7 separate regions of the Homo sapiens genome follow, and all the other regions are linked to region 5. The links are contacts of gene promoters, found by promoter capture Hi-C in blood cells and fetal thymus (Javierre and others, 2016). All regions are on one chromosome and are shown on one strand. The core of a region is centred on a gene start or on the middle of the fragment in contact, and the rest is flanking DNA. Distances in the headings are between cores, read along the strand shown.

Region 1 (2,750 bases), core at 216-2,715, 660 kb before region 5:
GGAAATGGGAAAGGTAGGGGGCTCCCCGAAGCTTCTCTCCAAATTCCCCATGTTCTCTCTTTCTTTTTTTTGAGATGGAGTTTTGCTCTTGTTGCCCAGGCTGGAGTGCAATGGTGCGGTCTTGGCTCACTGCAACCTCCACCTCCCGGGTTCAAGGGATTCTCCTGCCTCAGCCTCCCCAGTTGCTGGGACTACAGGCGCTGACCACCACTCCTGGCTAATTTTTTGTATTTTTAGTAGAGACGGGTTTCACCATGTTGGCCAGGCTGGTCTCAGACTCTTGACCTCAGGTGATCCACCTGCCTTTGCTTCCCAAAGTGCTGGGATTACAGGCGTGAGCCACCGCCTGGCTGAGCCATGGCGCCCGGTAGTTCCCCCTTCTCTTAGGCCTTGGCCAATGTTCTTGCAGCTCAGGGGTCTGGTTCCTTAGGGGCCCTCAGGGAAGGGGCCCCTGCTGAGAGGGTCTGGGGAATGGACCCCTTTAGGGCTGGGCACTTCCCTCATCTCTTTCCCACAGAGCTGCTCTGGGCTGGAGCCCTCCACCCCCATCACTCATTCTCCTTTAGCTTCTGGGAAAGCCGATTAGGAGGTGGCCTTCTACCCGCCCCCCTGACAAGTGTGTCTGAACTTCCAACAAAGGCCCTCAGAGGGTTGCAGAGGGAGGGCTCAGCACTGGGAACCTGACACCACTGGCCAGGGATCACCCCAGCAGCCTAGGAGGCAGCTCTGTGGGGCTGCCCACCCCACGGCAGGCAGGAATGTCGCTCTGAGAGGGGACCTGGTCCCACAAAGGCCTGGGGGCTGGGCTGAGGCAGGCTGGAGAGGTCTTCACCTGGGAGGCCTCACAATAAGGAAGACAGCAAGGGCCAGCACCCAGGAAGGCACGTGGGAATAGGCATACACGCCCCCACACACTGACAGCCTCTCACACACATTCCCCATACATTCACAGCACACACGCACACACGCATCCTCTCACACCCCTGGGACATGTTGACTTCTGCACTGGACCACACAATCCCAGGGTGTCTGTCTCCCTGTCTCTCATGCCTGTGTACACAGCCCCACTGCAAACCGGCAGACACACAGCCACGCTCTGTCGCCTGATGCTCCACACACCCGCTCCACCCCCAGACATGCATTCTTCCCGGCTTGCTCACACTCCAGACAGCCCCTGAATGCTCAGTGGCACCAGCTCCCCTGTACAGACAGCCTCTCGAGCCAAACTGCTGGCCTGGTGCCCACAGAGACTTGGTGGCGGCTGCCCTGTGATTGTGGAAGATGCCACCCAAATGCCCACATAAGAGTCAGACACTGGTCCCAGCTGCCATGTGAACACCCATGTGCACCAACCCACACATCCACCCCAAGGGGCTGCCTTGAGCCCACCTCTTCACAGCATGCTCCCTCCTGCAGCAGCCTCATGGGCGTGTGACCCATGCAGTCACACAGGGCCCTGGGCTCAGAGGGCCCGCAATGTTCTGATGTCACCATCTTGAAATCTTTACATTTTAAGCAAGGGGCCCTGCATTTTCATTTTGCCCTGGACCCCATAAAATATATAGCTGGTCTCACTCCCACCCCATTTCTATTTATTTATGTATTTATTTGAGACAGAGTTTTGCATTTGTTGCCCAGGCTGGAATGAAATGGTGTGATCTTAGCTCACTGCAACCTCTGCCTCCTAGGTTCAAGCAATTCTCCTGCCTCAGCCTCCCAAGCAGCTGGGATTACAGGCGCCTGCCACCACACCTGGCTAATTTTTTTGTATTTTTAGTAGAGACAGGGGGTTTCACTATGTTGGCCAGGCTGGTCTCGAACTCCTGACCTCAGGTGATCCGCCTGCCTCAGCCTCCCCAAGTGCAGGGATTACAGGTGTAAGCCACAGTGCCCAGCCCACCCCATCTCTTTCAGCTAAGTCACTGGCCCTTCTGTGGCTTCAGAAACCCAAGGCCTCCAGAAAGCCCTCTGCTTCTCCCACCTGCCCAAGGGCCACCACTTCCTCTTCCAGCCACGGTTTCCTTCTCCACCCCATTCCTCATCAGGCAACTGAGTGTGAGGGGTGGAGGGAACTACCAAGAGCATCCTATACACACCTCCTCCTAGTGTCACCTTGGGGCTCAGTATTCTCCTTGGTAAAGTGGGGCGAATGATAATGCCTACTTCAGGGTTCTTTGTTAGGAATAAAAGATAACATCTGTAAAACACTTAGCACAATTTTGGCATTTAGTAAATGCTCAATACTTGCTTGTTTTTTTTTTTTAAATTTGTTTTTACTTTTATTATTTGAGATGAGGTCTCACTGTTATGCCCAAGCTGGTCTCTAGCTCCTGAGCTCAAGTGATCCACCCACCTTGGCCTCCCAAAGTGCTGGGATTACAGGCATGAGCCACGACGCCCGGCCAATACTTGCTTGTTATTATTGCACTTATTACATTATGATAAGTGCCACTAAACAAAAGTAGACTCAGTTCCTGGCCCTATATATAGTCTAATGGATAAAATGGAGATTACTCAAATAATCACACATATATCCACGTAAAGGAGCAGGGGTGAATGAGAAGTGCACACGTCTCTGACCTCGAAGGGCTTACGGCTAACAGGAGGGGCAATCTGAGGCTAGATTCAGGATCAATCTAGGGCAAGACACAGCTCGATTAGAGGTCAGAGTTGGAGCTCAGAATGGGCCATGGCAGGACTCAGTTTGGGGCAGGGCCGGCTCAGTCTGTGACTGGTGCCAAGTCAGTCAC
Region 2 (2,700 bases), core at 46-2,545, 590 kb after region 5:
CATATCCTGACTCCACATGGGCTCTTGGCTTGGGAGCAGGTGTCCAAACGGCCTCTGGCACTCTGTCCTGGCTTGACGTATGTCATTAAAGAGAGGGGTCCTCACTCACTGCCCCATCCCTCTCTCCCTTTACTTTCTTCCGGTGATGCTCTGGCCTTCAGCACCCCCTGCAGTTGCATAAGGTTCCTTTCAACCTGGTGTGATGTGCCATGATCTTCTGTCTTTAGAGAGACTCCAAGGAACTATCAGGAGGGGAGGGAGCAAACTCTTGTTCCACCCAGAGGATGCAGGGATGGCGTTTCTGAGTAGAGTGTGTGTGTGTGGAAGTGGGGGGGGAGGGCCAGGTGGCTTCCAATGTCCCTTACACACCCACAGAATCAAGCATGTTGTGCCTCCCACCCCATGCCGGCCTGATCTGGCCTGACTGCCCTCCCCTTTCATGGTTCTCTCAACACATACCACCCTCTCCATCACACCTACAGTCTTGCTGCCATTTTCCTACTCACCTTCGAAGGCCAGACTCAATGCCCTTCCCCTGGAGGGCTTCTTTGATCTGCCTTCCATCCCTCAATGCCACTTGGGGCAGTTAAGGCTTCTCCCAAACCTTGTACATTTCTCATTGACCTCTCTGTGTTGTAGGTCTCCATTTATTATACGTAGTTTGCATGGGTTTCTATATGTAACGTGCTTTGAACAGTGCCTGGCACACAAGAAGTGCTAGAAGAGGTTGGCTATTTTTAGCATCATTATTAATATTTTTGTGTCTGTGTCTCTCCTAATAATAACACCTTCCACTTATAGAGCACTTACAATGTGCTGACATACATTGCTTGGTGCTATACACGTGTTATGTTATTATTATTCCCCTTTCTAAGGTGTGGAAACTGAGCTTGAAGGACTTCAGATTTCTTGCAAGAGACAGTGTCTCCCCAGCCTGAGACAGGCCAAGGAGCCGTCCCTGAATGAACAGATGAGCAAACCCCTGATGGAGAGCCCATGAGCGAAGCGTGGGTGCTTCCGGCTGAGATCTCTCAAACCCGCAGATGGAGGCTTGCCAGGCGGGGACACTGAGGCCTCATCTGGCCTCAGCCCCTGGAGGGGATTAGTGCCTGTGCCGGGCAGGGATCATTACCTCAGCCCCTTTCCTCCCTTTCTTTTCTAATGAAAACAAAAACAAAAATAAAAAAAAAGAAACCCACATACAAAACACAAGAAGTCCATAAAAACGTCCTCCTAGCTGCTGCCCCATCCTTTCAGCCTGAGGAACTGTTGGTTTGGTGGGCTGGCTTCAGGACAGCAGGCTGGTGTGCCCCTTGAGGTGCCCGGAGCTGGGGCCCCCACCATCAGAAGGCGAGACCAAGTAGGAGTTATGAATACTATGTCTCACAAGGTGCCCAAAGGCATTTTCTTTCACACTTTGAAAACCAAAGATGAAAACTCCCGCTTGGAGCCTGAGTGGGCTTTTTATTGCTTGGCAGGAGTCCCAGAGAAATGGGGCAGGACTGGTGGGTGGGGGGTGTGGAGGACAAGCCCCTCCAAATGCCCCCAGCCCACCTCCTGGGCCTGATTCTGCTCACAAAGCTCAGTCCCCCAGTCCAGATCCCCACCCCTTCCTAGGCTCACAATGGGGGAAACTGTCTCATGGCAAAGTGGCCTCAAAGCCAAACCAAACACTGCAAGTGTTCCCAGGCTCCACAGATGGCTGGCACCAAGAGGCCGCATCGGCTCTGAGTCAACAGGGACCCCAAAGTGGGGAAGAGGCCCTCTGCTTGGGCAGAAGGCAGAAGCCTGGCTCTAGCCTGTAGTGCGTTCCTGGCTTGCTGTGTGACTTTGGCAAGTGCTATCCTCTAGACCTCGGTTTCCCCATCAACACAATGAACAGGAACAGACCCGTGGACTTTAAAATGTTTACTAGCAGCAGAAGCCAGAGCGAGATCTTAGGTGGAAGCCCAAGGCAGAAAGCAAGGCTGTGTGTGTCTGAGACACTGTCAGCTGTCTGACCATGAGGCACCTCCAAGGGGCTCCCTGGAGCAGGGGTGGGTCTTGGCACTAGAGGGTCTCTGAGAGCCATCCCAGTCTAGGATCTGGGCATCCCAAGCCTTCTTGCCGGTACAAGGGGCTGGTGGGCTGTACCCTGACTGACCTCCTTAGAGAGCTTTTCAGCCTGAGGAGACCGGATTTGGGGCACACAGGGCCTGGGTCACAGGTGGCCCTCTGCCTGGGGATAGAGATCTCACTGTGATCACTTAGCAGAGACCCTGTTGTGATGCCAGTCTGGGCCTCAGCCTCTCTGGGCCAAGCAGGTCGGATGAGAGATCCAAAGCAACTGGTTTGCCTGCGGCTCTGGGTATCTAGGACTTTGTGATATCTAGGGCTCCTCCCGCCTCCACACCTTTGTCCACATGGTCTTCTGTGCTGGGAATGCCTTCACGCTTTGCTCAGCCTCACTGGGCCATGACTGATCAATTCCATCTTGGGCACAGGGCAGACAGGCTTGTTTTCTAATAGCTTCATAGCAGACCATAGCTGGAAGGGCCTGTCTGTCCCTCAGATGGGAAACTGGGCCCAGAGAGGAAACGGGACTTACCAAGATCACTCAGGAGAGCTGAGGCAGGGTCTCTGGACTGTGGCTCCAGGGCTCTTCAGTGGCACCACACTGGAAGCCATCTGTCCCTGGCCATGACACGAGACTTTTCCTCT
Region 3 (2,953 bases), core at 228-2,727, 570 kb after region 5:
TGGCAGCTGAGTGTCAGGGGAGAGGTGGTCTGGAGTGTAAGTTTGGGATTCAGCAGAGTATTTAGAACCATGAAATGGGCTAAGGTCACCGGGGGAGTGAGTGTGGACAGAGAAAAGGACTTAGACCAAGGGAGCCATTAAAAAAAAAAAAAAAAAAAGATCTGGCTACCTGTAAATATCATTACATTAGTCAGACTGCCATGTGCTGTAAGAGAGGGCAGGTATTGTAGTGTGATGGGGGTCGGAGGAGGAGGAAGATTCTTTGAAAGATGGAGTTGGGCTCGGGACTGGGGGTGGTTAAGATCTGGACATGGCAACATTTTAGTTTCCAAAAGTCAGGGCTGGGGCTGGGGCTAGGTCAGCCCCTGGCTTAGGGTAGTTGAGAAAGCACAGGTTTAGAGTCTTATGGGTCTTAATTCCCAACCTTGCAGCCACTTCTTAGGTGCGAGTTCTGGAAGAGGTGACTCACCTTCAAAAGCTCAGTGTCCATGTCTATAAAACAGGGTCAGTAGCACTGACCTCACTGGAGAAGTGCATGAGACAATTTATGTACAGTGCCCTGCATGAGAACACCAGAAAAATGAGGCCCTAAGATAATGGATATTAATGGGTATTAATGGATGTTTCATACCAGCCTTTGCATGGGAAATGTGAACTTGAGTGCCAAGTTTGTGAATCAAGATCTTACTTTAAGTCAGAGATATGTCACTTTTGAGAATCTTTCATGGAGAATCCCTTGATAAAATGTACCACCCCATAGTGGTGGGTGCTGGATGCTGACTTGGTTCTCTCTGGGCTCCAGAATCTGGACTCTGATGATCTACCCAGTTAAGTTATATCCACATAACAAAATTTGCAGGCTAAAAAAAAAAACAACTCAGAACTTTCATCTGGGGAGTGTTTGAGCCATACCCTAGAATGAAAATTATACACAGCTTACTATGTACTTAACACAATCATATTTAATTGCTCTGACGTGCCCCATCAGTGGCTTCTGAGATGGGTCTCCAATACCTCCTTACAAATGAACTGGAAAGAATGATTGCCATGGTACCTGAGGGCAGAATCCCAGTGACGGTCTGGTTTGAATTCCTTTTCTCCTTGCCCCGCCTGGTTGCTACTTGTGTGGCCTACTCCAGTGGCCTGGTTTCCAAATGTAGCCCGCTATTGATCCAGTTGGACTCATTGGGGCACCAAGAGAAAATAACTTTAATTTTTTTCCAACTCCCACTGCCCTTTTGACTGGCTATATGGCAGACCACGTCCCCATCCCTGGAGGGCCTCTCATGTAGATTCAATAGCTTTCCTTGTCACTATCAGGGACACTATCTCCTTTTCATCTACAAAAAACTCTCATCTGATCAAAATCAATCTGAATTTTTCACCAAATTCAAAGTGTTTGTTTCCCCTTAGCTCAGGGAAAGCCCAAGCCTCTTGTCCCCTCTGGAGGCTGCTTCTGGCTCCTGCAAGGATGGGTGGGAGGTGAAATGAAAGGAAAGGAGGACATTGGTGCCCTCTGTGTGGAGACATCCAAATGCCAGCTCTTTCCCTGACTAGGGGCTTATATGTGGGTTTTTTCAGAGCCACTGTGCTCTTCCTTGGTGTGGGCAAAGCTCTCCCTGGCTGGTGTCTTCCAACCCCCTTGCAGCTTCTGCTCTGACAGTCCACTCCTCATACCCTGAGGATGGCTGGCTTCAATCTGGCCCATTGGTTGGCTGGTTGGGGAAAGGTGAGAGGGTGGGGGCATATGAGGTTCCAAATCAGTTTTGCTATCCCTCAGCAAGTCCTGCATGAGTGGACTGGCTGCCTTCTTCTGAATGGGAACATACTATCTTCAGCTTTGGAGCCTCAGATGTGACTTCCAGATACCAGGAAAAGTTCCAAGTAATATTCTGTTATATAACATATTAACTTTCTCAACTCAAATGCTCAACTTTTATCTTCAGCATAGAAGAATGGTTAAGTCTGCAGTTCTGGAGTCTGACATTGGCTGGGTGACCATGAGCAAATCATTTAACCGTTCTGGATCTCAGTTTCCTGATCTGTAAAGCAGAGGCAATGGCCTTCACTCTCAAGTATGTTGTTTAGATTGATTTGTTCTTCAGGTGCCAGGTGGCACATAGCAAGCCCTCAATAAACGGAAGCCCTTATTTGTATGTTTCTGAGGAGTCTTCATTTCCTCCAACCTAGACTGGATGTCAGTGCTTCTTGCTAATCCAGGTACCATTCCCTCCTGCCATTTGCCTGGCCTGCATGGCTGTCTTTGATAATAACACTTAGTGTATCTCGAGCATCACTATCTTATTTGCATCTCACAACAACCTTGCAGGATACATATTATCATCATTCCCATTTACAGATAACAAAACTGAGATTCAGGAGGAGGTTGAGTCACTTGCACAGGGGCAAACAGCTTGTAAATAGCAGAACTGGGGTTTGCCCCCAGACCTGTCTGATCTCAGAACCTGCCTGTTCTACCACTCGTTTTATCTCCTTAATTATCTGTCCTGTCTCTTTGTGCCCTCTGCCAAGAGTAACTCTTCTGCACTCTATGGACATAATAGCGGATCCTTTGAATGAAATCACTTCCTGCTTGGAGCGCACCCTGAAAATGGATCCCTCACTGCCCAGTAAAATGATACTTCCTGTGTTACATAATAACAAATTCCCAAAGCAGATTTGTAGAGGTAATATTGACTCCATCCACTTCCTGTGTATGGTTATTCAAGTTATATAAAGTTGCATTCTCATGAAAAGCATCCGGTTACTGTTGGTTCAGTACCTACCTGGTGTCCAATGCTGGATTAGCCAAGAAGGGAAAGGTGTTTTCTGATCTTAAGCCTAGAATCTATTTTGAGTGTAAGACAGGTAAAAAAAATTACTGCCAGTGCCAAGATGTTTGTAGTAAATACCTGTGAGGGGTCACCAGAAGTAAGTACCATAGGAACTTAAA
Region 4 (2,866 bases), core at 309-2,808, 740 kb before region 5:
CTCCATCAAGTGGCCGTAAGGAGCTTTCTGTCTCCAAAATCCCTACCTTAGCCCTACCCCAAACTCCCCTGCCCCCAGTGGCTTGTCCTGGCCTCACTTCCCCTTTGAGATTCTACCATGTGATCTTGGGCTAGCCTTTTAACCTCTCTGGGCTTGTTTTCTACCCAATGCGGTGGCTGTGAAGATTAAATGTGGTTCCATAGATAAAGCACTTGGCACGCTGGCTGGATCACAGTGAAGCATGAAGGAAATGAGGGCTGCTCTCGTTCTGTTCTGTCACATCTGTGTGTGAGGGTGAGGGAGTGGGGTGGCAGGAGAGCAACCAGTGACACAGGCCTCCCATGCCATGCTGAGGCGCTGAGGTGGACGGAGATGCACGAGATGATGTGGCATCCTTCTTGAAATCTTGGGGGATGCAGAGACAGAGAACCAGGCAGGGTCGGGGAAGCTCCAGACACTGACTCTGCCTCTGCCTCCCCAGGTTATCCCCTTCTCCATCCCCCAGGCAGAATACGCCATCAAAGACTTGTACACGGGGGGATGTTTACTGATGGAGGGGCCACTCTTCTAGAGAAGCTATACGTTATCTGCTGGGACTCAGGGGTGGGGCATGGTGGAAACAAGGTAGGGGAGTGGGCTGGAGCCAACCTGAGTCCCAGGAGGGAAACTGGGGGCCTGGGCTGGGGTGCCTCTGCCTAATAGTGTGACCTTATGCCGCAAACCACACACTGGGCCTGTCTTTAGGATGCACCTGTTCCGGGGGTGGGGCAGAAGTACATCTTTGGGTTTGGCCTCCTTCTTGTCTACGGCGTGGAAGTTGGGTGGCTGTGGGGGCAGGCCACTGGCTAAGGGCTGTGACTTACCCATCTGCGACTGGTTCCTCAGAGAGGGGGACATTGTGGATCCCAGCATAAAGGGCATGGTCAACCAGCTCTGCCTGCCAGACCCCTTCAAATGTTTCTTGGCCTGGATCCCAAAGTACATAGTAAGTGCAGGCCCTAGTCAGGGAGGGCTTTGGAAGGGCAGGGAGCACAGGGAGTAGGAGGGGCTCAGAAAGCAGAGGGAGCTCACAGAAGGAGTGGAAGTGGGGTCAGAGAGGAGGATGAGGCCCAGAGAATGGTGGTAGCTCAGAGAGGGGTTCAAAATGGGGAAGAAGAATGAAGGGCTGGGTGCACAGTGGCTCATGTATGTAATCCCAGCACTTTGGGAGGCCAAGGTAGGAAGATCACTTGAGCCCAGGAGTCTGAGACCAGCCTGGGCAACATAGTGAGACTCCATTCTCTAAAAAGAATGGAAAAAAAAATAGCTGGGCATGGTGGTGCATGCCTGTGGTCCCAGCTACTCAGGAGGCTGAGGTGGGAGTATCACTTGAGCCCAGAAGATCAAGGCTGCAGTGAGCTGAGATTATGCACTGCACTCCAGCTTGGGTGACAAGTAAGACTCTGACTCAAAAAAAATAAAAAAAAATTAATTAAAACAAATAATGAAAGAAGGGGATGGGGCTAAAAGAGTAGGGTGCTCACAGAGAGGGGAGGGGGTTTCAGAGAGGAGGCTCAGAAAGGGGGAAGGGCATTTGGAGGGCTACAGGGCCAGTGTGAGCTCAGGGCTTGGTGAAGTGGTGTAGGCTTGTTGAGGATCGGAGGGTTCCACGTCAGTGCGTTGAGCAATGCTACCCTTCTTGGACCCCCTCCTGGGCAGGCTGACTGTTTCCCTGTGGGTTCTGAAGTTGGACTCCCCCTCTCAGCCCCCCTCTAGGATCCCCAAACTAGCCAGCATCTTGAAGAGATTCGTGGAGTGGGGTGAGTCTCCCTAGGGCCAGCTCTTGCTCCAATGGTTGTCCATGGGATGGTGGGAATTGAGGAGGGGCATGAGGCTAGAGCTGGTATCCACTAAGGGGGGATCTATTTAGATTTCGGACTCTAATTAGGGTTTTAGGATCATGCCTGACATTAGCTTAGATTGAGACTTTTGATTGGTGTTGGGACTTTATTTGGAGTTAAGATCTGAATTAAGGCCGGGTGTGGTGGCTCATGCCTGTAATCCCAGCACTTTGGGAGGCTGAGCGGGGAGGATCACTTGAGGCCAGGGGTTCAAGACCAGCCAGGACAACATGATGAAACCCTGTCCCTACTAAAAATACAAAAATCAGCGGGTGTGGTGGTATGTGTCTTTATCCCAGCTACTCGGGAGGCTGAGGCACGAGAATCACTTGAACCCAGGAGGTGGAGCTTGCAGTGGGCCAAGATGGTGCCACTGCACTCTAGCCTGGGTGATAGAGATAGACTCTGTCTCAAGGGAAAAAAAAATCTGAATTAAGGCTAGGTTGAGGTAAAATTTGGGACTGAAGTTGAGATTAGGTTTTATTTGGGGATGGGCTTAAGACTGAGGCTGGGGTTGGAGTTGGTTTGAGTTGGGGTTGGTGGGGCGAAGATAGATTTGGAAGAGGGTTGGGACTGAGGCTGGAGTTGGGGTGGGGCTAGAGTTAGGGTTAGAGATGAGGTTGGGAGAGGCTGGTATGGGCTTGGGTTTGCTGTTGGGCTTGGCCTGGTGGGGTTGGCATGAAGATGCTGGGCAGAATTGGGCTGGAGTGGACTGAGGGCTAACTGGGTGCCTCACAGATTAGGGTAAGGAGCCTGTGGCCTTTGAGGCAGCCCATGAGTTCCTGTGACTGGTGGAATGGGGGGTAGATTGACCAGAGGATGTGTGCTCTTGGGGACCTTGAGCAGGCAAGATGTCTTGGCCAGGGGACAAGACACGGGGTCACTCCCAGCCCATCAGCTGATTTGCAGCGTGCACTGAGGCCTTGGTTGTCATGTCCCCATTTGTATAAAAGGGTTCCCTCCCATGCTGACCTTTGAACTTGTCA
Region 5 (2,960 bases), core at 177-2,676:
AATATCTAGGTGATGGGTTGACAGTTGCAGCAAACCACCATGTTTTTACCTATGTAACAAACCTGTACATCCTGCACATGTAGCCTGGAACTTAAAATAAAATTAAATTAAAATTAAAAAGAAAACAGCACCACCACCATCAAGGAAAGCCTGTTCCCAACCTCCAATTCCAGCTCACTAGCTCAGCCTGTCTCATTCCCCTTTTTCTCTCTCCCCTCTCCTCCCTGCCCCTTTCCTCACTTTGCCCCCACCTGTCCTCACCATCCCACCCCATACCTCCAAGCTCACAGCTAGAACTGACCAAAGGCCCAGTTATTTATTTACAAAGTCCATGTCCAGAACTGTACCAGCCTCAGCGGTGTGGAATAAACTGGTGTGGCCAGGTCCATTGTGCTGATGCCTCAAGAGATCCAGGCTGGTACAGATGGGTCTGGCACATTCTGTACCTGCCAGCCAAGCAGAGCATCCAGCTTACTTCTCACTCGACTCCTTACATAACGCTCGTCGGGTACTCTCCATTCCTTGGGCTTAAATTCCATAGTGTAATATTAGTAAACCAGGCTAAATGATCCTAAGGATCTTGCTAGCTCTGACGCACCGTGATCTTGCATCCAATTCAGTTCACTCTGTAATAAATAATCATAATAACAATAGTAATTTTCCAAATAGCTAACAGTTATTGTGTACTGTATGCTAAGCACTATTCTATGTATTTCATGTGAATGTTTAACATTCATAACACCACTTATCATGTAGACATCATTTACTGCCCTAATTTACAGTGAACTGGAGCTCCGAGAGTCACGTTGATTTAACCACAGTCCCAGGCTACCAAGTGTCCAAGCTGTGCTGCTTCCAAGCTGCCTGACCCAGACCTGAGCTCTTAACCTCTCAATGGGCATCCAGGTCGAAAGCAGAATCTCTGGCTCAAGTGCCGACTGCCCAGCTGTTTCAGAACTCCACCATGCACCCAACTGCTCCTCCAGGACTTCCCTACGGATGTGTTGCAGGCTCTGAAACGTCACACATCCACGCCGCATCCTCATCCCACACATGCTCCTGCTTGTCCCTGGCATCTGCCATTCTCAGTGCCATTCACTAGCCTATATGATGCCTTCGAATCAGAGGAAGTTACCTCTCCCTCCAGGGATACGGGCCCACACCTGGTCTCAGGGACCCTTTAGTGGAGGCACAGTCTATATAGCCCAGAGCAGTGCCCCTGATGCCATCGTCTTCCAATTTGCTCAGAGCAGACACTGGGATTCATCCTTAATATCTCTCTCTTCTCTCTCTCTCTCTCTCTCTCTCTCTCGCGGAGGCCCCACTGCCCTTGCATTCCACAGGAAGTCCCAGTTGCTGGCATGACCTGAGAGGTTCCTGGGACCACGCCATGGAAATGCGTCCGGTCCCAGTGTGACGGGGAAGAGCCGCGCCTGAAGCTCAACTTCCGAGGCTCTCATCAATCTACGCTTCCTTTGGAGCGTGCAGCCACCAGGTGGCAGCCGAGGCCACGGGCAGACAGAAAAGCTCCCGAAACTGAAGGACTGCCAGGCAGCAGAGTTCCGGAGGGCTCCCAGGACCTTCAACCAGAAAGAGACAGAGCATATGCGCATATGTATGTCTGAGCCCGTGCACGGAGGAGGAGTATGAACAGACACCGCGGGACAGATGGCTGGAGTTTAGTCCCTTCCTTCGGGGCTCTTCACCACTCCTTGGGCTTCCCTTCTCCTGTCCAGCCCTGTCCTGGGTGCACAGAGAGGGAAGTCACTCCATTCCTGCCCTTGAGGAGCTCCCAGACCCAGGGCAGGAGCAGGATGCAGACAAGTAGACAGCACCCTGGGGTGGGTGGAGTGAGTGGGGCAGGTGGGGCGGGTGCAAAGAGAGGGAGGAGCAGGGGCTGAAGTTGCCCGGAGGAAGTGCTGAACCCAGGAGTGGGGAAAGGAGCATCTGGGAAGAAATGGCATCTACGCTGATCATGGAGGGCTTTCTGGCAAGTCTCAGGAGCAATAATAACACGGATGTCATCTCTGTTTCCTCCCAGCAGCCCTGCAAGGAATGTACTATAGAGCCAATTTTACCGGCAAAGGAATGGAAGATCTGAAAGGCTAGGCGATCCCACAAGCATCGAGGAGCAGGCTGGAATTTGAACCAATCGGCATGATTCCCAAGCTCAAGCTTTTGGCCACCCCTGCACTGCCAGGGACAAAAAAAAAAAAAAAAAAAAACCCTGGGAGGAGAGCCAAGCTAGGGAGTCAAGACCCTCCAGCCAGGTCTGGATGGGAGGCAGGTGCCTCCACCCTGGTCCCAGAGCAAGTTCTGCTGGCTTCAGCCACCTGACTTCCCTGTGAAGGTGGGTAGAGGCCAGAGCAGACTGTGTGTGATTCTGGCCCCAGCCCCAGCACCTCTACCCCCACCTTTACTACCCCTAGGCTGCGGGAAGAGGCTTTGCCCAGCAATAGTCCTGATCTAATGGATCCTTGAAGCACAATAAACAGATAGTATTTCTGCATGTGTCACTCTGAGTATGACGGCAGTAATCTTGAAACTCCCCTTGACCACCTGGCACTCTGGAGACGGAACTCCACAGCCTGTTTTCAAAGCCAACTCCTGGCTGGAAGTTCCTCTTCAAGTCTAAATGAAGTAAGCAGTGCTGCAGTCTTCCCTCAACTGTGCAGTTGCTGGGTGGAGGCTTTTCTTTTCTGCCTGAGTTTGGGTATAACCTATAATGTAACCCTATGAAACTTACATGTTTTAGGTGGGAGAGGGGAAAACAAGGTGCAAGCCCTGTTCCAGGAAGAGCAAAAATGTCCTCAACAGTAAGAGGACATTCTGGGCTGAGAGCCAGGGCTTGAGGCAGCCTGCAATCCTGGCAGATAGCTGGTGGAAGGGACCACAGAGAGATGATACCACACACAGAAGTGAGACCAATGAGATCGTGGGAACTGCCCGGCCAAGGGTTG
Region 6 (3,081 bases), core at 77-2,576, 780 kb before region 5:
TTCCCACTCGTGTTGTCCTCTCTGGCTGCTCCCCCAAGGGAGAATTAGGCCCCCCTCAGCATTGGCATTCCAGTAGAAATCCCACCGCAGGATCCTCCCTAAGCCATATGAGGTAGCTACGGAAACGTGGAGAGGACCCACTCACTCCGTCCAGCAGTAGGACTTGTCATCATCCACACGAACAACACCACAGGTAGGGTTGTTTGTGATCATTCACGCACACACACATTTAGCCCTCCAGAATTTGACCACCAAGGAAGTACCTTACCGGCTCCCTCGGCTTCTTCCTTTGTCTGTGCACAGAGTTGTCTCTGCAGTGTGTGAGGATGCTTTACCCTAGGTTGCCTGCTGGTTTCTTTTCACATTGCTGAGAGCTCAGGTTATTTCTTGCACTGGGTGAGTCCTGATTTCTCACCCCTGAGGCCATCACAAGAGGGTGGGGCATACCTCCTCAGGAGAGAGAACCAGAGACTGCCCCTGAAGGGGAATGTAATCACGAGCAAGCCCCCAAATTGTTATAAATAAAGTTTCCCCCCAGTGCCGCAAAAGAAATAGCACTCGAATATAAAATTTTCTTTTTTTTCTTCTCAGCAAGGCAATTTACTTCTATAGAAGGGTGCGCCCTCACAGACGGAGCAAAGGTGAGCGCACACCTGGACAAGGGAGGGGAAGGTGGTTCTTATGCCTGACCCACGTGATTCCTGATGCTGTGTCCTTCCCCTGTTGGCTAGGGTTAGACCTATAGGCTAAACTAATTCCGATTGGCTAATTTAAAGACAGTGAGGGGGTGAGTGGTTTGGCGGGAAAAATGGTTACCGCAGAGCAGGAAATCGGAATGAACCACGGTGAAGAATGAGTGAGGGAGGAGCAGGTAATCGAAAAATGTTGCTTTATGAGGAAGTTAAGTTTAAAAGTAGAAGGCAAAGAATTGAAGATACTGACATATTGATTCTTTTAAGATAAATTTAGAACTCATATCTAACAGCTGGCATGTCTGGCATGGGGCTCCGGCTGGGGCGCAGTCTTCAGCATTTGGGGCTCTGGGGTGCAGGGGGCAGAGGACGGCCGGGGCTGTGGTGCCCAACCGGTGCTAAACTCAAGCTTGGGAGGTCGCCCACGAGAAACAGTCGCCCTTCCCCACCCGCCTGCTCGGCTTGGCGGGGAGCGGGATGTCGCTGGGGGCGATGCCAGGCGGGCCGCCTCTGATAGCCTCTAGGCTCTGGCGCGCTTCCCCGCCCCTCCCGCGCAGGCGGGCGTGGGATCCCGGCTGATCCAGTCCGGGTTTTGCGGCGGAGCGGGCGGGCTGCGCGTGCGGCGGCTTCAACTGTCGCGGTAGGCAGCAGCAGGCTGAAGGGATCATGGTGCAGTACGAGCTGTGGGCCGCGCTGCCTGGCGCCTCCGGGGTCGCCCTGGCCTGCTGCTTCGTGGCGGCGGCCGTGGCCCTGCGCTGGTCCGGGCGCCGGACGGCGCGGGGCGCGGTGGTCCGGGCGCGACAGAGGCAGCGAGCGGGCCTGGAGAACATGGACAGGGCGGCGCAGCGCTTCCGGCTCCAGGTGACTGCCGGAGCGTAGTGGGATGGGCGCGGCCTGAGGGTACTCGCAGCGGCACTTTCAGCCGCCGGACCCGCCGAGGGACAGGGGATGGGGCGGGCAGAGCAGATGTGTAACTCTCCAGAATCTCTCCTTGCCCTAAGATATTCCGCACTTTCTGAGCCAGGTAGAGCACGGGGGAAGAAAGGAAACGGTAGTGTCAAGGCAGGTGGTGGAAGGCCTTTCCCTCACTGGGTCAAAGAGGAGTTTTGCTTTGTGCCAAAGAATCTCACGATTGCTGCCTATTGGAATGCGAAAACGCAAGCGTGACAACCAGTGGGATGCCAGGGGTTGAGGACTTTGGAATCGCAGAGTGTAATGGCCAAGGGGATCTGGAGAGCTTAGAGTTTTGTTTTTTGTTTTTTTTTGTTTTGTTTTGAGACGGAGTCTCGCTCTGACTCCCAGGCAAGAGTGCAGTGGTGCGATCTCGGCTCACTGCAACCTCCGCCTCCCGGGTGCAAGCGATTCTTGCTGCCTCAGCATCCCCAGTAGCTGGGATTACAGGGGCCCGCCACTACGCCTGGCTAATTTTTGCATTTTTAGTAGAGACTGGGTTTCACCATGTTGGCCAGGCTGATCTCAAACGCCTGACCTCAGTTGATACACCTGCCTCGGCCTCCCAAAGTGCTGGGCGTGAGCCACCGCGCCTGGCTGAGTTCAAGCTTCTTGATTTGTGCATTTGGATCCTAAGAGGGAGCCAGAAAGAAACCTGCCAAGTGCACAGGGAGATCTTGGCAAAGCCAGGCTAGAAGGGAAGTCTCTCTGGCTCCTGCTGTGGTGTCCAACCCCTGGCAAGCCCTTTCCATGAGCAGGTTTAGTTCCAGCCCTCCGTGGGTGGTCTGTCAACAAGCTTTTCTCCCTGCGCTGCCTTTGGATCACCTCAGTATGTGGGTTTGGAGGCGTGGAAGGGCCTGGCTGAGGGTTTGGAAGATGTGGCTTGAAGAGGGGCTTTTCCTCTGGGTGTGTGAAACACTGACCCCAGTTAAAGCCTTCTTATGTGCTGAGAGAGGGAGGGCTTGCTGTATCTGTGGGACCTGACAGGTGGGAAGGCTTTACAGGTTGGGAACCGCAGGACTCAGGAGGGTGTGCCTGGGTGGGAGACAGAAAGAGTCACAGAAAATTGTGTTCAGCAGATGTTCCGCAAGTGATTTTTGAGTTGGGGCAGAGCTGGAACTAGAACCTAGGTGCCCGCTGCACTCTGCAGCCACACTTTCGTGGAGAGGAACAGGAGAGAGATATGAGGAAGGCACCTTGCATGCCAGCCCAGGGTGTAGCCCTGCATGTTGAAGGGGGCCAGCCCCTCCACACCTGTGGGTATTTCTCCTCAGGTGGGACAAGAGACTGAGAAAAGAAATAAGACACAGAGACAAAGTATAGAGAAAGAACAGTGGGCCCAGGGGACCACCGCTCAGTATAGGGAGGACCCGCGCCAGCACTGGTCTCTGAGTTCCGTCAGTATTTATTGATCACTATCTCTACCATCTCGGTGAGG
Region 7 (2,797 bases), core at 293-2,792, 840 kb before region 5:
TGGACCTCGCGACGGTCCCGCGGAGACATCGATATAAGAAGAAATGGGTAAGGTCCGGCTGGGGGCGCAGGAGGGAAAAGTGAGGGTGGAAACTTCTCCAGTCTTTCCGTTTCCCGGCCCTCTAGAACGCCTAGCGTCTTTCCCAAGCACTCCACGGAACGTCCTTAGGCACCTCCCTCTCTCGTCTTTTCCGTCACCGCCTCTGTCCGCACTCTATGTCCCGAGCGTTAGTGTCTTCCACTTGTTACGTCTGCAGTCTCCTGACTCCGCCCAAGTTGCGTCATCACCTTCGCCTTCATTCTTTTAGTGATGTCACTGTCTCTTGTTCCCCAGCTGTGTCCACCTACCTTTCTGTCCCCCACTCCCCCTTTTACTTCCCTCCCTCCCCTCCCCCTTTCCCTTGCCCATTCTTCCCCCACATGACTTCTCCTTTCCTCATTGATTTTCCAGCCCGGTCGCCCTCACCCCTCGGAAAATACCATAGCGACCTTGCCTGCACTCCTGGGTCTCCGCCGCCTTGCAGGAAAGGATTCAGCCCCTTCCTCAACCTCGAGCTGCCTCTGGCGACCGGGCAAGGTTACAGCGACCACCCTGTCCATACTGCCGGCCCAAACCCTGGCAAAAGGTGCAACGAATCCTCTCATCCTCTGGACTCTCCTTGCTTCTCCAGAGACCCTTTTTCTTGCCTCACTGGAAGCCCTGGAATTTCTTCTATGACCGGCACGCCCCCCTGCCCACCCCAGCCGATTCCCTCGCCACCTCCACCATCTCTTCCACCCCCACAACCTTCCTCGCACTCAGGGAGATGGTCTTTTGAGTCCTCTTCCCCACTCCTGGAAAGGACCTACTGCCGCTAGCCCTGCCACTCGGGTTCCCCACTCTCCAGCCCTTATTTTGAGCAGTTCAGCATTCCGGGGTCACCCCCTCTCTGTCAGCGGACACCTTATTGCAGCTGGATGAGTCCCTCCAGAATGCGGCGTCCCTGTCTTCAAGGCACGTACTGTGACCAGCACACTAATCTCTGTTACTCTAGCGGATGGCCTTCAGCTTTTGGAACCAGCCCGGCAACCTCCTTTCCCCTTGCTCATCAGTCCCCGGGAACGAGCCCAGTGACCTCCCCTCAGCTCACTCATGTACCCTTGGAAACTGGACCCATGATTTCGCCTCCTCCTACACATAGGACCCCGGGAACTTGCCTCACGATTTCACCTCCTCTTGCTCGCCGGCCGGTGGAAACTAGTCCTATGGCCTCCCCAACCCTTTCTCACAGAGTTTTGGAAACTGGGCTGATGATCTCTCTGCCCTCTCACTGGTTCTCAGGGAGAAGTTATAATGACCCCCTTCTCTCCCCAGCATCTTCCCCACCTACTGGCAGCTTTTACCATGGCAGCCTTAAGCCTCTAGACTCTTGTGAACCCAAACCACAGCTTGACCTGCCCCTTGAGAAAAATTGTTGTGGCTTCCCACTCTCTTCTCAGGCAGGCATGCCTGGCTCTCCCAGCTCACCTCAGGAGGGCTCTTATCATTACTCCCATCTTTCCTCAGAGGCCTACATACCTACCCCTGGGAGTCCTTGCTATGCCATCTGCCTGTGCCCCGGGAGTACTGATTCTCCTTGCTCACCCCAGTCCCAGGCTCCCAGGAAGGCTTGCATTGAGTCCCTTCTCTCCTGGGAGGCAACTGGGAACTCTTACCTCATCCTAACCCCGGACACCACAACTTCTGGTCCCCCCTGTTCCCAGGAACCATCTCGTCCCCATGGTCCTCATTCTGTCCTTTCCTTCCCTTCACCCCTGGGCAACCAGTTTATATCTCCACCCCAGTCACTTCCCCGCAGAAGCTATAATGAACCCCCTCTTCCCACTCCAGTTTCCCCCCAACCGAAGTCCCCTAAGTCCCCAGAGTTAAGACAGTCACATACTCCCCACAAATGTCTCTCCCTAGTCAACACTCCCCAGCACACCCCTTCTGGCCAGCCCAAGCCCGCTAAGGCCCACACCTGTCCCCCACCTCCCTCCTGCCTCTCTGGTCCTTCTTGTATGCAGCCATACATCACAACTCCTTCAAATTCCAGCCCCAAAGAACTTCCCCCAGGGACTACCTTACTGACTGTGGTCCCTAGAGCTCTCAAAAGTGTTATCCCCACTTCTTTTCCCCTCTGCCTTCCTTGTGATCCTGTCTCGGCCAATAGTTATGCTCAGAGCAGCCGCCATGGACCCTCCATAGGGCCCCCCTGCAATACCCATATATGCTCTGTGGTTCCCTCCACCCCCCATCCCTGCCCACTGTCTGGCTCCCTCAATCATTCGACAGGCCCCCCTCCCATTGTGCCCCTGTGTGACACCTATAGCACTCCCAGGGGCCCACCCCAACCTCGTTGTCAGCCTGTGATGCCTCCTTGTTCTACCCACATCTATTCTTTTATCCCTTTGAGAACACCCTTTGATCCTCAAAGTTTACCCATTGTCCCCCGAGTCCGGGCCTACCCTGATACTGTCCCCTGTGGCCTCCATATCTACCCTGTGGCCTCTCAAGGCCCTTGCAAAGAGCCTCTGCAGATCCCCTACAGCTGCCCTTTGCCTTCATCCAAGGATTCCAGCTGTAGCACCAATCCCAGCTGTAGTTCGACTATTATTAGCAAATGCCAGAGTAGTGACAGCGAGAGCAGGAGTTCCCACCAAAGCCAAAGCCGGAGCCAAAGCAAGAGTCCCCATGATGGCAGAAGTCAGAGCTGGAGCAAGAGGCATCATCTGAGCAGAAGTCCAAGTCAGAAAAGCAGTCCCTATCCTAGCAGAAG

The links. Contacts are between HindIII fragments. The CHiCAGO score rates a contact against its expected background, and 5 or more counts as called.
Region 1: a contact is called between a fragment that was not itself captured here and the fragment with the promoter of LINC00853 in region 5, in 1 of 17 cell types (erythroblasts). The highest score is 6.6, in erythroblasts.
Region 2: a fragment that was not itself captured here is called in contact with the fragment with the promoter of LINC00853 in region 5 in 2 of 17 cell types (activated CD4 T cells and naive CD4 T cells); the score reaches 5.6 in activated CD4 T cells.
Region 3: a fragment that was not itself captured here is called in contact with the fragment with the promoter of LINC00853 in region 5 in 9 of 17 cell types (naive B cells, naive CD4 T cells, total B cells and 6 more); the score reaches 11.1 in naive B cells.
Region 4: a contact is called between a fragment that was not itself captured here and the fragment with the promoter of LINC00853 in region 5, in 1 of 17 cell types (erythroblasts). The highest score is 6.2, in erythroblasts.
Region 6: a contact is called between the fragment with the promoter of FAAH here and the fragment with the promoter of LINC00853 in region 5, in 2 of 17 cell types (endothelial precursors and total CD4 T cells). The highest score is 7.5, in endothelial precursors.
Region 7: a fragment that was not itself captured here is called in contact with the fragment with the promoter of LINC00853 in region 5 in 1 of 17 cell types (erythroblasts); the score reaches 6.4 in erythroblasts.

What each region holds. Positions count from the first base shown.
Region 1 is chr1:46,519,552-46,522,301 of GRCh38, forward strand. No RefSeq gene overlaps it. Among named protein-coding and RNA genes, the nearest start is that of TMEM275, 15 kb to the right of the region's middle. RefSeq lists a cis regulatory region at 2,625-2,750 and an enhancer at 2,669-2,750. The HindIII fragment of the contact is 2,873 bases long and covers 30-2,750 here.
Region 2 is chr1:47,768,003-47,770,702 of GRCh38, forward strand. The region is part of intron 6 of TRABD2B (TraB domain containing 2B); the gene reads right to left. Among named protein-coding and RNA genes, the nearest start is that of LINC01738, 81 kb to the left of the region's middle. The HindIII fragment of the contact is 3,260 bases long and covers 1-2,700 here.
Region 3 is chr1:47,748,753-47,751,705 of GRCh38, forward strand. No RefSeq gene overlaps it. Among named protein-coding and RNA genes, the nearest start is that of LINC01738, 62 kb to the left of the region's middle. The HindIII fragment of the contact is 6,160 bases long and covers 1-2,953 here.
Region 4 is chr1:46,437,779-46,440,644 of GRCh38, forward strand. It overlaps the pseudogene FAAHP1. Among named protein-coding and RNA genes, the nearest start is that of LINC01398, 10 kb to the right of the region's middle. The HindIII fragment of the contact is 3,272 bases long and covers 1-2,866 here.
Region 5 is chr1:47,177,824-47,180,783 of GRCh38, forward strand. LINC00853 (long intergenic non-protein coding RNA 853) reads left to right here and starts at 1,427. Exons shown (of 2, transcript NR_047498.1): 1 at 1,427-1,615; 2 at 2,045-2,516. It overlaps CYP4A22-AS1 (CYP4A22 antisense RNA 1), which reads right to left and starts at 1,800. Exons shown (of 6, transcript NR_199717.1): 1 at 1,367-1,800; 2 at 302-626. RefSeq lists an enhancer at 1,298-1,799. The HindIII fragment of the contact is 3,617 bases long and covers 1-2,173 here.
Region 6 is chr1:46,392,991-46,396,071 of GRCh38, forward strand. It overlaps FAAH (fatty acid amide hydrolase), which reads left to right and starts at 1,327. Exons shown (of 15, transcript NM_001441.3): 1 at 1,327-1,553. The coding sequence starts at 1,359. RefSeq lists an enhancer at 1,215-1,728. The HindIII fragment of the contact is 1,150 bases long and covers 1,100-2,249 here.
Region 7 is chr1:46,340,873-46,343,669 of GRCh38, forward strand. It overlaps NSUN4 (NOP2/Sun RNA methyltransferase 4), which reads left to right. Exons shown (of 6, transcript NM_199044.4): 1 at 1-47. Among named protein-coding and RNA genes, the nearest start is that of NSUN4, 1.5 kb to the left of the region's middle. RefSeq lists enhancers at 1-5, 1,133-1,222. The HindIII fragment of the contact is 4,077 bases long and covers 1-2,797 here.